2 separate regions of the Homo sapiens genome follow, and region 1 is linked to region 2. Evidence: promoter capture Hi-C in human tissues and cell types (Jung and others, 2019). All regions are on one chromosome and are shown on one strand. Each heading gives the region's core, a stretch centred on a gene start or on the middle of the fragment in contact. The rest is flanking DNA. Distances are from core to core; before and after follow the strand shown. Region 1 holds the start of F10 (coagulation factor X). Region 2 overlaps CUL4A (cullin 4A).

Evidence for each region. Contacts are between HindIII fragments. The study calls those that stand out against the background at their distance.
Region 1: a contact is called between the fragment with the promoter of F10 here and a fragment that was not itself captured in region 2, in 3 of the 25 tissues and cell types used here (IMR-90 fibroblasts, dorsolateral prefrontal cortex and heart left ventricle).

What each region holds. Positions count from the first base shown.
Region 1 is chr13:113,120,167-113,124,659 of GRCh38, reverse strand. It overlaps F10 (coagulation factor X), which reads right to left and starts at 1,861. Exons shown (of 8, transcript NM_000504.4): 1 at 1,735-1,861. The coding sequence starts at 1,804. It overlaps F7 (coagulation factor VII), which reads right to left. Exons shown (of 8, transcript NM_019616.4): 8 at 3,975-4,493. The HindIII fragment of the contact is 14,274 bases long and covers 1-4,493 here.
Region 2 is chr13:113,223,935-113,228,460 of GRCh38, reverse strand. CUL4A (cullin 4A) reads right to left here. Exons shown (of 20, transcript NM_001008895.4): 4 at 416-485. Among named protein-coding and RNA genes, the nearest start is that of CUL4A, 17 kb to the right of the region's middle. The HindIII fragment of the contact is 5,587 bases long and covers 1-4,183 here.

The sequences.
Region 1 (4,493 bases), core at 612-3,111, 100 kb after region 2:
CTGCAGATGCTGTGCGCATTCTGATTTTATTAAAATCAAAAGTGTGCACAGCAGGGTCCTGAGTGGGACCTTCTGGGACCTGTGTTCAGCCCCACCCACCCCACAGTGCAGCTGCCGAGGCCTCTGAGGCAGAGTAGGGGAGAGAGATGGCCTGGCCCTGGCTCTCCGGGGCTGGCCATGTCCACCCAGGGTCCAGGCCGGCCCCCGGGGACACCACAGGCCATGGTTATGAGCCAGGCCCGCATCACACAGCTAAGGGTGCCAATACCCTGTGGACCCAGAGGTCCGCGAGGTGGGCGCCTGCATTTCCCATTGGCAGGAAGGGAAGCTGGCGCTCCACCAGGACTCTGCATAACTCCCCTAGTTTCCTCCTGTGGGTCTGGGTGGGCTCCTGGCCTGTCTTCTCATCCCCACCCTCTGCTTCTTCCCAGGAAGAGGAGTCCTGCCAACTTCCATTCCCAATAAGCCAGAGCAGCTTCCAGAGTCCCGGGCCGGGCTTAGGGCCTCGGGAGCCCCGGGCCGGGCTTAGGGCCTCAGGATCCTAGAGCATTCCGGCTGCAGAATTTTCTACCAATTCGCGGAAGCATCTGTCTGTTTGCAGAGTAGCTTTGCTGTCGATGATGATGGCATGGGTCCTTCCAGGGCCTTGTTCCACCCACGCTGATCTCATCCCACCACAAGCATCACAGTGGGCTCCTGCAGGGGGCAGTGTGGCCTGAGGGGGAGGAAGAAGGCTGGGCGAGTTGGAGCCACACAGTACCCCATGAAGACGGGAGTCCCGTTCCGCGTGGGAGACAGGAAGATGTGGCTCAGGGGACAGAGGCTGGGGAGGGCAGGGGGTTGAGGGTGGGATGGAGAAGACCCCCGTGTGATGTGACTGGAGCTCCAAGTCACCAGGCGGAGGGGCCGTTTAGGTCAGTGATGCACTGAGGATCCACTCAGCCTTCCCAGGGGTCTCCCCTTTCCACCCCACGAGGGTCTCCCCCTGCTCCGTCTCTCCCTCACACATTCCCTTCCCAGGCCTGGGTCCCCTTGGTGCCCCTGCCTGTCCACTTTGTCCAGGATGCAAACAAGTCTAGGGTCCCTGTCTCTCGTGTCCCCACCAGAGGGGCCTCCTCTTCCTCCGCTGTCCCCAGGCTTGCCTGGCTTCTGTCCTGTCTGGGCCTCTGCTTTTGGACAGACCCGGGGGTCCTGGACAGCCCTGCTGCCCCCACCTGTCCAGCTGTGCATTAGGCAGCTCCTTCCCCGACGGAGCCAGTCCGAGAGTGGTGGCACTGGCTCGGCTCAGCCTCCTCCTCCCTGGGAGCTCCTCTGCTGTGCCCCTCGTCCTGTGCCTCCCTGTGGTGGCAGATGGCTAACTGTCCTGTCTCTGCCTGCCCCAACCCCTCCCTCTCTCTCTGTCTCCGTCTTTCTACCTCTGTCTCTGCCTCTTGGCCTCCCATCTCACTGTGTCTCCGTTTCTCCTTCCCTCTCCCTTTCTCTCTCTGACTCTGTCCTTGTGTTTTTGTCTCTGTGACCTCTGATCCGCCCGTCTGACTCTCAGCCCCAGGGAGCCACAGCTGGCCTTGAGGATGCCGTTGGCTGGAAAGGCCAAGCCCAGCCATCCGAGCCCAGCCTCTGGCAGCACTCAAGGCACCCACCGTCCAGGCTGCAGAGATGAGAGGGTTTCCCCAACTGCCGCCCCTCCCTGCTCCCTGGCGCTGCTTTTGGGTCTGAAGGGCGAGGGGCACTTACGACTTTCCCCGAGCAGCAGGAGGCCAGCCAGGGAGGCACTGAGCAGGACGAGGTGCAGTGGGCGCCCCATGGTGTGGCCGAGTACTGTGTCCCTGTCCTCACTGGGACAGGCTGCTGGAGCAAAGTCCACGCCCCAGCTGGGATGGCTGTTGTCTGGCTGCTTATCACTTGGCTTAGGCCTCCTGATTGGAGCCGAGACCTGCTGGCGAGGCAGGGGAGTGACCACGCTGGGAACACATCCACTCTGGCCCCACCTTCCCCAGGCAGAGCTGGGCGGCCAGAGAGGCCCCGCAGAACCTCATCCTCATCAGTCACCAGGGCCGCGGGTGTGGGGACTTTCTGTTCTAAGAATAAAAACATCATTTCGTGCTCATTTTGTAGTTTCCAGATGTTTACATTTAACTCTCAGTCCTCACATACAAATATCATTTTCCCCATCATTTTTCCAGAAGAGAAAACTAAGTTTAGAGAGCGCAGAAGCCTGAGCCGAGGCCGCTGGCAGTGAGCGTGGGATCTGAGCCCAGGACTTCTGCCCCAAGGCCCTGCTTGTTTCTGGGCGGGCCCTTCCGCTCACAGCCACTCTCTGGGTGGTATCAGGTGGTCTCATGTCACGGGGGGGGCTTGGCATCTGCACCATGGCCTCCCACAGGCCAGGCTGGCACCTGCCCCACCCACCCCCAAACCTTCTGTGCCCGCATGGCCCCAAAACGTACTTCTGTGGGGAGTGACCTTCCCGTGACCATCTGGAGGGACAGGCTGTGTCTGAAGCCCCTCCTGACCTGCCCACCACTGGCCACACTGTTCCGAGGCTGAGAGGGCTTCTGGGCTCGTTCTCCAGTGCAGAAACCTCCCATCACAAGGTCCTGAGTGTCTCTGCTCAATGGCTGTGGGAGTCACTGGGAGGTGCAGCCGGGCTTTTTGCCTCTGGGGTCTCTGGAATAAATGGTCTAAAGCTTGGCCAGTGTGGCGATCACTGCCTGCTATGCCGTAGTGGCCGGGGAGCAATGCCCCTAACACCCACAGCACTGGCCACTGCCTCATGGTGCATCTGCCTTGATGGGTCGCCCTGTCTCGCAGCCACCTGCACATGAGCCTGGTGTGCACACATTGTGCGTCATTGTGCCTGGCACACAGGAGGCACTCACTGAGCCCCACCCGACTGCACAAACTGATGATGCTGGATGCCAACGCCAGGCTGGCCTCCCACGGCGGGCACCACGCACAGCCTGGTCCTCTGAGAAGGGCCTTCCTGGTGGCACCAGATGTCTGACTCCTGCCTCTCCTGGTCTCCACCCTCTGACATCGCCTCTAGGCATGTTTGTATGGAGAGACCAATGCGGTGTGTGCACCAACAGCAGGATGCTCATGGCAGACACGCAGTCTTTGTCATCAATGCTGGGTGGCGATGCTGGCTTTGGTGGCCCAAGCCTGCCGCCTCATCCCACCCTGTCCCAGGCCCATGGCCAGTGGCCTCCCCGTATTCTATCTCGCCACTCACAGAAAGCTGGAGCTGAGCCGTGGCAGGTGGCACGTCCCATATGAAACATGTAGCCTTTGGGGGCGCCCAGGCCCTTCAGCGAAGCCTCTGGGGAGTCCCGGGCCCCCTCCTCCGGCAGCACCATGAGGTGGGCGCCTGCATTTCCCATTGGCAGGAAGGGAGGCTGGCGCTCCACCAGGACCCCGCATGACTCCCCTAGTTTCCTCCTGTGGGTCTGGGTGGGCTCCTGAACTGTCCTCTCATCCCCACCCTCCGCTTCTTCCCAGGAAGAGTCCTGCCAACTTCCACTCCCAAGAAGTCAGAGTGGCTTCCAGAACCCTGGGCTGGGCTTAGGCCCTCAGGAGCCCCGGGCATTCTGGTTGCAGAATTTTCTACCAATTCACTGAAGCATCTGTCTGCAGAGTGGCTTTGCTGTCGATGACCATGGCATGGGCCCTTCCAGGGCCTTGTTCCATCCATGCTGATCTCATCCCACCATAAGCATCACGGTGGGCTCCTGTTTTACACATGAGGAAACTGAGGCATGGTCACTCGGACAAAAGAGAAAGCAGAGCCAGCTCTGACCTGGATCAGGGCCCGCCACTGGCTCCCGTCCCGTTTAGGGGGCATTAGGAACCGGGGTCTGGCCAGGGTCAGCAAGCATCTTCAGCAGAGGTCCTGACACTAACCATGCTGGGCTTGGCGGGTCAGCTGGTCTGTCCGGCTGGACGTCTCTGCCACGGCCACTCCATGGACACTAATATGGGTGTGTTCCCATAAAACTTTATTTACAAGAGCAGGGTGCCTTGGAAGCAGCCCACGGCTGTAGTTCATAGACCCTGTCTGCTCTGAAGTAGATGATGCCTGAGTGCCCCCGAGGTGGGTTGCTGGTGCCTGCCTTGCTGCTGTGAGTGCCAATGGTGCCCACCTTGCTGCTGTGAGTGCCAGTGGTGCCCAGGACGGCCCTGCAGGGATGGCATCGAGTCCACTCTCTGAGCCGTGCTTGCCGGAGTCTGAGTGGGGGCACTGTTTGTCACCTCCCCATTTCTCTGTTCATGTGTTTCTCATTCTTCTTCCACCACCCTGGGGACTCAGCAAGAGTGCAGCTTGCCAGGTCCTCCCACTGCAGCCAGGGCCTGGGAACTTGCATTTAGTGATGCGTGTGTCCCTGACTCTTGAGCAGGTGCTCCCAGGGTCTCTGTGAAATATCATTGACAAGGGCTGTGGCAGGGAGAGAACATCCAATTCCACAGGATCCTGGGAGCTACAGCCTCAAACATCT
Region 2 (4,526 bases), core at 141-2,640:
CTTAAGTAATTAACGGCCAGGTCACACTAAAAATGTATACATGACGTCAAGTCAAAGCCAAGACATCTACAAAGCCTAAGACGCTGGTTGTGCAGCTGCAGGAAAGACCTGGGATTCAGGCTAGATTCTGAGGAGTAAACTGTGCTTAAAGAGACATTTAGAGACCCATGCAGGCATCTAAGAACCCTGTCACCACTGCGGACTGTGACTGTGGACCTGAAGGCCAAGAGGGTCAGTGGTGCCCTCTCACAGGAGCTGAGGAGTTCACCTTCCCTGCTTTTCTCATCGTGCTGTTCAACCACAGCACTGAACACAGACAGAATCCTCAACAGAACTTCTATGTCTCAGCTCTCAATCATGTGGGTGAGGGAAGATGGATGAGGTCGTGTTTTGATGAAAAAGTGAACAAGCTTACCATTTGTCTGCAGTGGTCCTGCCAGCACGTGTTAATCTTCTTTAAAAATAAAACACTATCTAGTGAGTCTGTACAGATCTGCTAAGGAAAACTTTAAAAATGCTGGCCAATTTAATTATTACCTTTTTTTTTTTTTTTGAGATGGAGTCTCGCTCTGTCGCCCAGGCTGGAGTGCAGTGGCACGATCTTAGCTCAGCAGTGCAGCCTCTGCCTCCCAGGTTCAAGCGATTCTCCTGCCTCAGCCTCTTGAGTAGCTGGGATTACAGGCGTGTGCCACCACGCCCAGCTAATTTTTTGTATTTTTAGTAGAGACGGGGTTTCACCATGTTGGTCAGGCTGATCTCGAACTCCTGACCTTGTGATCCACTGGCCTCAGCCTCCCAAAGTGCCGGGATTACAGGCGTGAGCCACCGCAACCGGCCATTATTACAATTTTAACCCCTTAATTTCAGCTACCTTCTCCACTGAATACTACACACCATTCAGTAACTGGAATACTGAAAGAATATTAGTCTTGAATGTTCATGTCCCCCCAAAATTCATAGGCTGAAGCTCTCACTCTACGGTAATGGTGTTAGGAGGCAGGGCCTCTGGGAGGTGATTAGGTCATGAGAGTGGACAAGCCTCAAGAATGGGGTTACAAAAGAGACCCCAGAGAGCTCCCCTGCCTCTTCCACCACATAAGGATGCAGTGAGAAGGTGCTGGCTATGGACCAGGAAGCGGGGCCCCACCAGACATGCAATCTGCCAGTGCCTTGACCCTGGACCTCCAGCCTCCAGAGCTGTGAGCAACAGACTCCTGCTGTTGATGAGCCACACTCTATGGTGTTTTGTCATGGCAGCCCCAGTGGGCTAAGATACACTAGAAGTTCAATCATGGATCTCTGTATCTCATCACCAATGTGCACTCAGCTTGCCTGTGCTGCTTTCCCTTCCCACGGCCCCGCCTGCCTCTGGCCGCTCGCCACTCCCTCTCCAGCCTCCCTTCATCCTCTCCTTCCTTCACTGCCAGACACCTTCAAGTCCCTGCCGGCAGAAACACACCCAGGCCTTAAGTGCCCTGGGGGTAGGTGGCGGGACAAAAGGCCCCACTTCACAAAGGGCAGACACTGAACATACTCCCACAGGGGGGCTCCTGGAGATGGTGACTGGCCTGGTAAGAGTCACTAGGACTATTTTTTAAAAATTAAAAGAGATGGCACCTCACTATACTCCTAGGCTGGTCTTGAACACGTGGTCTTAAGTAATCCTCCTCAGTCTCCCAAAGTGCTAGGATTACAGGTATGAGCCAGTGTGCCCAGCCTGTGGCAAAGTGCAGCTGGACAGGAAAATGGCTCAGGTTTAACTTCCAGCCTCAATGAAAACTAACATGAACTCTCATCCATGCACCAAATTAGGAACACTCTTACCTTGACTCTTAGAATGTGTATTTTTAGGAAAAGGCCCAAAAAGTAGTTTAGGACAAAGAACCCAGAATATGGGCTCCTAGAGCAAGTGGTCTGGTGTCCCTCAGGTTCATGCAAAGCTGAGAATCATCAATGACAATAAACTGCTTTATGGTTTACGAAACACTCTTCACATCCACTCTCACTGAAAATCTCCCCAACCTCGTGGTGCAGACATTGTTCCCTTTGTACAGATTAAGAAAATGGCTTGTCAAAGGGGACAGAACATGGACTTCCTACATTTTAACTCTTGATCCACCGCCTGTCAGCAACACAATACTGGCCAAACCAAGGGACTTCTCTAGGTCTGTTTCTGCCGTGCAGCAAGACACTTCACACTCAAGAGCCAATGTGAGGTGGTGACAACATCCTCACACACAGAGAGGAGGAAAAACACATCAGTTAAGTAGGATGCACAAATCAGACATGAGCTGGAGTCTCAGGGTGGCAACGAGTGGCCTGACAAAGAAAGAGTGCCAGGGAGGGTAGGGTGCCAGGCAGAGCCTGAGGAGGAATAAACAGTGCTGAGGATAGCCAAGGGGCTCCCGGGGGGTCTGAGTCCTTGTCACACCAGGAAGTGCTGTGACCAAAGCTACAGGGGCCTGGCTAAGACAGCTTACTCTATTTTTTCTTGAGGCTTTGCAGAATTCTCAGAAGCACTGCCAGAAAATTAAAAACAGACACTTACAGCAAAGACCTAATGGTTGAATGGTTAACAGGTTCCTCTGGAAGTACTCTTTACAAATTGTTCAAAATTATAATGGCTCATTATATTAGGAATCTACAGAAACAGTCTGGACAAAACAAAAAAACCCATCCCAAGTGCATCTGGACAGGCTTCAAGGACCCCCAACAGCCATCCTGCAGCTCTGACTCCAGGAGCTGGACGGGAACTGCGGCCTGGACCTCCCAGCAAGCCTCTCTGCGGGCAGGCGGGCCACAGCAGCCGAAGGCGGAGCTTTGCTTCCAGATGAGGGTGCACAGATCCTTTAAACTTAACGGGGTTAAACTGACACCAGTCAATCTGACACCACTGGGCAGCTCAGGTGTTGTGAAGACAGAGTTCCACCTGGGGCAGTGTCTTGTTAAGATGGAAAGTCCAATGTAAAGTGTTCATTAAATGAGAAATACTTCCTCTAAAATAGCTCTGTAAAATCAATATAGATCCTCAATCAATAATTTTTTTGTTATTTCCCACAGAAAAAAACTACAAAATGGTAAGCTAAAATCAGTGTGGCATTTACTAAGTAAGCTTTGGCCTTCTAAACATCAAAATCAATTCCATATTCTGGGATATAACACATAGCCACAATGGTGTGCAAGTAATTCCAGGATGTGAGACACACAGACACCGTGAGTCTGTCAATAGTGTATTCTCGAGATAGGTTCTTCAGCAACCATCCTTTTTCTCACTTCAGAAAAGGGCCAATCTTCATTAAACGATTTATACAGCCTACTGAGACGAGTTAGGCAGGTCTTCAAACAGCAAACAAAATCCAACAGCAGAAATGCTTACACCATAGAAAAAAACCTACCTATCATATCTGTAACTAAAAAAAAAAAGAAAAAGCAAAAAGACGGTGCTTCTGTTGGGGTAGAAGAGGGATACATACATTTTCTACACTTGGTTATCTGCTTCTGCAATTCCAGGAACAAGTGGCCCATCTGCTGCCTGTACCGACAGACCGGACAGACCGCGAGGGGACAGCCCTAGGCCGACCCTCATTCATCCACACAACCCATGAAGGCAGGGGTGCTTGTTTTGTCTCCTCTGATCTGGCCGAGCATTAACAGGGTTCTCTTGGGCTTTCGTCTCTTCATCTGGAAAATATGGTCAATAAAGATACCTACGGCTCAGGGTGTTGTGAGACAAAGCAATTCATGAATGTGCAGAGCTTGGCCTACTGCCAGCAAGTGCTCCGTACACGATATCTGGTCAAGTGAGAACAGGCACAAAGTCTTTCTAAGGAAAGACAAAGCCTGCTGTCGCCAGTGCGGATCATAAAGGCACACTTAGAGGAAACTGGAGCTTTGCAACTTCCCCAACAGCCAAGGTTCCCAGCTCACTCCCGTGCCCTTCCCTTCTGACCACACGGCTATCATGGTGTCCACCACTGCCTGGCATTCTGTGGCTGACCAGAGCTGCAATGCTGTCAAGGTGAACCAGGGGAAGGAAAATGTGAGTTTCATCTATAGTTATCTACAGGTTAGATTCTGAGGACAGTTGGCTTGACATTTTTTTTTTTTTGAGATGGAGTCTCGCTCTGTCACCCAGGCTGGAGTGCAGTGGTGCGATCTCGGCTCACTGCAAGATCTGCCTCCCGGGTTCATGCCATTCTCCTGCCTCAGCCTCCCGAGTAGCTGGGACTACAGGTGCCCGCCACCACGCCCGGCTAATTTTTTTGTATTTTCAGTAGAGACGGGGTTTCACCGTGTTAGCCAGGATGGTCTCGATCTCCTGACCTCATGATCCGCCCACCTTGGCCTCCCAAAGTACTGGGATTACAGGCGTGAGCCACCGCACTCTGCGGGCTTGACATTTTTGAAGAGCTCCTGTTGCCCACGTAGCTTGGCTGGGTGGCACGTGGTCCTGCAGCATGTGGTGTGGGTTCTGCAGCAGCTGCCTGTGGCTGAGCATGTGTATGAGTGCAAGGGTACAAATGGCC